Linked DNA regions of Homo sapiens: region 2 is linked to region 1. The links are contacts of gene promoters, found by promoter capture Hi-C in blood cells and fetal thymus (Javierre and others, 2016). All regions are on one chromosome and are shown on one strand. Each heading gives the region's core, a stretch centred on a gene start or on the middle of the fragment in contact. The rest is flanking DNA. Distances are from core to core; before and after follow the strand shown. Region 1 holds the start of POF1B (POF1B actin binding protein). Region 2 overlaps SATL1 (spermidine/spermine N1-acetyl transferase like 1).

What was found. Contacts are between HindIII fragments. The CHiCAGO score rates a contact against its expected background, and 5 or more counts as called.
Region 2: a fragment that was not itself captured here is called in contact with the fragment with the promoter of POF1B in region 1 in 1 of 17 cell types (M2 macrophages); the score reaches 5.2 in M2 macrophages.

The regions. Positions count from the first base shown.
Region 1 is chrX:85,378,247-85,381,146 of GRCh38, reverse strand. POF1B (POF1B actin binding protein) reads left to right here and starts at 1,482. Exons shown (of 17, transcript NM_024921.4): 1 at 1,482-1,508; 2 at 1,652-1,974. The coding sequence starts at 1,693. The HindIII fragment of the contact is 3,418 bases long and covers 1-2,817 here.
Region 2 is chrX:85,140,574-85,143,391 of GRCh38, reverse strand. All of the region lies in intron 2 of SATL1 (spermidine/spermine N1-acetyl transferase like 1), which reads left to right. Among named protein-coding and RNA genes, the nearest start is that of SATL1, 100 kb to the left of the region's middle. The HindIII fragment of the contact is 4,774 bases long and covers 1-2,818 here.

The DNA of each region.
Region 1 (2,900 bases), core at 233-2,732:
CTTTTTGCACACTCCTCAGCCATAAAAGAAAATCTAAAGATTCCTTTAAAGTCTCTCATGGCTAGCATTTCTGAAGTGTTTTTTGATGTTGACATCTAGAAGATTTATTAGATGGCAGGATACAGAACAATATGAGAATTTATGTAGCTGTAAAATGGAACAATTTGAGAATTTATCTAGCTGTATAATATACCAGATAAGAGCTTAGACTCTAATATGAATCTCCATATGTTAAAATGCCAGGCCCACCATTTACAGGTTATTTAACTTTGGAAAGTTTTTCAAACTCTCCATGTCTGTGCCTCAGTTTCTCACCTATAAACCTCATAAAGTCACTTCAATGATGAAATAATTATAATCCACATAAAACCCCTTGAACAGTACCTGACACAGAGTGAATAGTAAATCATAACACTTTGTTCACTGGGCAGAAAAAAAATGCTGCTAGCCCCCTGGATAACATTCTCTTCCTCTCTAGAATGGTGGTAGTATACTAGGTCCTATTGCACATATACACATTAGGAAGATACTTTTTACTAAAGTCACTTTGAATGAGAGTATTCTGGATTTAAGTGGTGCTGAAGTATATTGCATAGCAAAATCTGAGGGTAAGTAGGCATTATGATCAAAATTTCAAGTAGTAATAAATGTAAGTTGTAAACACATTTAAATCTCATTATGTCAGTTAAGGCATCTTTCAGGACTTGCAGCTCCCTTAATAACTAGATATTAAAAAGTCAATCAAACTCAGTGTTTCCTAGGGCACATATAAGGGCAGGAGAAATTCCCTTGCATAAATGAAAAACAACAAATGTGAATGCCAAAATGCAAAGCATTTGTGGAATCTTTAGGTTTTTCTTGACCATCCACCTTTCTATACAGCAATTCAATCATTTAGACAAATTTCCTTCAACAAATGATAGAAAAGAATACGAGGCTTTGAGTAAGATAAACAAGTCCATATATTAGACAGAGTCACTAGAAAGAGACCCCTTAGTAATCTTCCTTAACTGCAATTATCAGATGGGTTTTGCAAAGAATGCAAATTTATCTGTGAAAATTGGTGTATTCCTAGACTAATACTCATTATTTTAGTCTGGGAATCTGGAATAATAATACTTATGCTGGTAACTACCTTTGCTAAACTTAAGAACCATAAAAAGACACTTTCATATAACATGTGTGACTTTTTTTCTCTAGCAAGTTTTTTGCATTTTCATGTCTTTGTGAATTTTTAAGCCCATGTGCTTGGAAACTCTGGCTTCATCCCTGACATTCTACATTTCTGCTCTTCACAGACTCCTTTACCTGCTGGGCAGCCTTGTAGCTATCTCCGTGGCAAGGCAGGGCCTCTCCTGGCATGTAAACCTGCTAAGTGAATCCGCCCCTAAGGGCGTGTCAGTACCATTTCCTGGAGCAATGTCACAGGGTGGCTCCATTTTCCATTTGAGCTCAAATATTTTGCTGCTTCCTCTGTAGCTGCCAGACCTGCTCTTGCTGCTGCTCAGGTAGCTTTCTTCTCTTCCCGGCACCACTATTGGCAGAGGTTTTGATAAGCGGTTTCCACACGTGTGTCGTGTGTCTGTCTGCCTGCCTGACTGCCTGCTTGCCTGTCTTTTTTTTCCATTATATTTCTCTGTTTGTTCCTTAGGTAGAACATCTGGGAGGTCCCTTGCTGACCACTGGAAGAAGATGAGCTCGAGCTATTGGAGTGAGACGAGCAGCAGCAGCTGTGGAACCCAGCAGCTCCCAGAGGTGCTGCAGTGCCAGCCCCAGCATTACCACTGCTACCATCAGTCAAGCCAAGCCCAGCAGCCTCCAGAAAAAAATGTAGTGTATGAGCGAGTGAGGACCTACAGTGGGCCCATGAACAAGGTGGTGCAGGCCTTGGACCCCTTCAACTCACGGGAAGTGCTCTCCCCTCTCAAAACCACCTCCTCCTACCAAAATTTGGTTTGGAGCGACCATTCTCAGGTACAACAAAGAAAGCTATGCCAGACTAGTGGAGAAAGGCAATCTTCAACCTGATTTCTCTTCCTTTCTGCTTCTTTGCCTCTATTCCACAGGATATCTTTTGGTGGATTGCAGTTATATATGCCTTGGATAGTCACCCAAATTCATCTCTTGGCTGTTATTTCACTTACTAGTGTCTGTGGTTGTTTGTTTCCGGGTTTCACTGATTTTCATAATCTAACCATAGTATAGGAAGGCTCATTTTCTGTTTGATCTGACTGAAAGATCTGATCCAAGGAATCCCTTTGCCCCTACTGCAAAGCAGTTCTCAACTTGAGTACAGTAGATTTTTATTAGAACAAGTTCCTACTGATTAATTTCATATCAGAAGCAAACAGGTTTTTTTTGGTATCAAATATGGTGATACAGGTACTGTGGCATGTCTGAGTGATAAGCAATTATTTGTGCTCAGCAAATAGTATAGCTGCTCCAGGATAAGTGAGAGGTGCAGATGTCTGAATTGTCATATGTGTTTCATCTTCCAAGAATGACACACTTTTTATCGTACAGCCTAGGTGAATAATTTATGGAATACTTGTAGAAAGAGTACTGGAAGAGTTGATATAGGATTGAGGAAGGCAAGATGTAAGCAATTGTTACATGAAAGCTACAAAAGATGGAACTCTAAGACATCCCATAAAATGAAATACGTTTGTTTCTTAAGAGTTATTCTTAGCACCAATACCTGTGTTAATAACCTTCCCAATAAATACAAGGTAACCCTGCAAGACTGTATAAAATTAACAGCTTTATGTGTATTTTATCCTCTGACTCCTTTTACATTAAATTTGCATGTTTTAAGCTTTCTGGAAAATTCTGTCCAAACTGAAATTATGTTTTTAAGATACAAAAATCTCAAAAAGCAGTCATTGGGATATGATGCTATG
Region 2 (2,818 bases), core at 122-2,621, 240 kb after region 1:
CTACATTTAAAGACTGCTGCAATTAGGAGAGGCAATCAGCAGAGATTGTGAATGGTTTATATAGGAGATAAGGGACCATGGATTTTGAACTTGTTCTTTACAGCATGTATAAATTACCAGTTAACTTTTTGGTTGTACACTTGTCAGATCCCCATATCTATACTTCCTGTATATGGAACATGCACGAATTGTGTATGAGTTGTATACCACTTGAGTTCAGTCATAGCCATTTATTATTTCCAAGAACTATTTGTTCATCTTTGTACTAAGGTTCATGTTTTATTATTTGCCAAAGTTAAACCTTTGCTTGAAACATATTGCTACTAATACATTTTCCAACCCTGCTCATAACCAGAGATCTCTGACCTTACAGCCACCAAGAGTGCTGAACAATCATCTGAGGACATCATTGGGTATCACTGGCAAAGAGAAGAGATGAAGAAAAGATAAGAGAAAGAAATGAAAGTGGAAGAGGGCAGAAAAAGATAAACAAAAGTTAGGAGAGTTTTCAGGAGGAGAAAATAAAGAGAAGACAGAGAAGGAAGTATCTGGTAAGGAAACAAATACAGATGTAATCCAGTTGGGATACCAGGCTTTCATTAGGATATTTTCTCTCTTTTTCTCCTTAGATCCACATTTGTCAGGACGCCAATTCACCTAATCATATCTGCCATATATTTTCCATCTAAGTCACCTTGACAAGCTATCATTAACCTTGTAGCCCATGTGTGTCTCAGAATCCACTCTTCTCCCCACCTACTGGCATGTGTATTTATTTTTATGTAAGTATTTCTGCTGGAATGTATCTATTATTGTACTTTATTCACCATTCTTCCTTTCTTGCCACTAATAAAATTGCAGTTTCATGAGAGCTTCAGGTTGAACTTTCATGCCACCTGTTAATACAGATAATTTTTTATCTACCCAGCTTACCTTGACCTGGTATAATTTGTTTGCTTTCAACAACTCTACTTCAATTTTTTTTTTTTTTTTTTTGAGATGGAGTCTCGCTCTGTCACCCAGGCTGGAGTGCAGTGGTGTGATCTCGGCTCACTGCAAACTCTTCCTCCCGGGTTCACGCCATTCTCCTGCCTCAGCCTCCTGAGTAGCTGGGACTACAGGTGCCCGCCACCACGCCTGGCTAATTTTTTGTATTTTTAGTAGAGACGGGGTTTCATCGTGTTAGCCAGGATGGTCTCGATCTCCTAACCTCGTGTTCCACCCGCCTCAGCCTCCCAAAGTGCTGGGATTACAGGCGTGAGCCACCGTGACCGGCCTCTACTTCAATTTCTAAAAAATGATCTCCTTGTTTTATAATATCATAGCAATAAAGTATGTACTTAATATTATTAGGTTGGTGCCAAAGTAATTGCAGTTTTTGCAATTATTTTTAATGGCAAAACAGCAATTACTTTGGCACCAACCTAATATTAGTACAATATTATGAAAATATACATGCACATTTTTGGAAAACAGGCATTTTTGTTTATTTGTTTTCATTATGGTAAGAGACAAATAATTATTTGAGTTTTTAGTAAGAAATAAGATACAAAAGGTTATAAATCATAGATAGACTCTAATTCTTTATCTAAGCTCCACATGAATTCCCTCTACAAAAATCCATTGGTTTTTGACAGGAGGCTGAGTATCTCTTGATTCAGAATTTATATGTTATTATTGTAATTATTATTGTTGTTATTGTAAACTGAAGCACTCTACTTAAACATTTTGGTGATATGTGTTTCAAACCTTCTGGAAACAACCAGCTCTGTCAGAAATATACTTCTTTCTATTAAACCAAATTCTATTTTCCTGAAACTTCCAGCCAATATGGAGCAAATTCACTGTGACACACTTAGAAAGTCCTACCATATGGTGAGACTTCAGAAATACAGTAGCATCAAGACTATCAGACTGACAAGTCATAGGAAGGCAACATTTCAGCTTACACATCCAATATACTATGGGTGTAGTTAATATTGCCTTTCTTCATCTATATCCTTTCTAAGACATTAAGGTTAGCTGTAAATTATCTATGTGAAGCACATAATGGTGGTTACCTATCTAACAACATATTGCCCAATAAACACCTTTCTTCTCCCAACAGAGGCTGGGAGTGTTAATTACTGTTATCTCAGCCTGTCTTGCAGCTAGGAGTGGCCACATGGAACAATTCTAGCCAATGAGACATAAGGGGAAGTTTGCTGGGGTTTCTCAGAAAGTTTCTTCAGTAAAAAAGGAAAGGGCAGCCTTCCCTTGCAGCCCCTTTCTGCCTGCTTTGCATACAGCTGTGTCATGATGTGATGCTTGGAATGGCTGCAGTCATCTTGCAACTCTGAGAAGAATCATCCCAATAAACTGGAGGTTCCAGAGCGGAAAGATGGGGAAAAAAATAGGGTCCTTGATAACCTCAGTGAACTAATGAATCAAGCCTGGGACTGCCTAACTTAAGACTTCTTGTTATGTGAGATTTATTAATAAATCTTTGCTGTTTAAAATATGTTTAGTTGGGTGTTCTCTTACTTGCAGCCAAAAGTATTCTGACAAACCATGTTAATTAAAGGGACAATAATATGGAACAACCAAAATGCCTTTGAAAAAAATTCTAGGGATATAACGTAAATATTCTGTATTGTACACATTGGGAACAGTAGCTAGCAACCTGTTAATCTGATGCATGAAACAGGACACAATTAAATCCAAGAAGGTTAACAATGGATTCTAAATTTTGAATTGATTGTATAAGGGGGAATTCAGTGTGGACTGCAATTAAAGTATAATCAGATATAATAGATAAGTGTATTTAAATAATTCATTA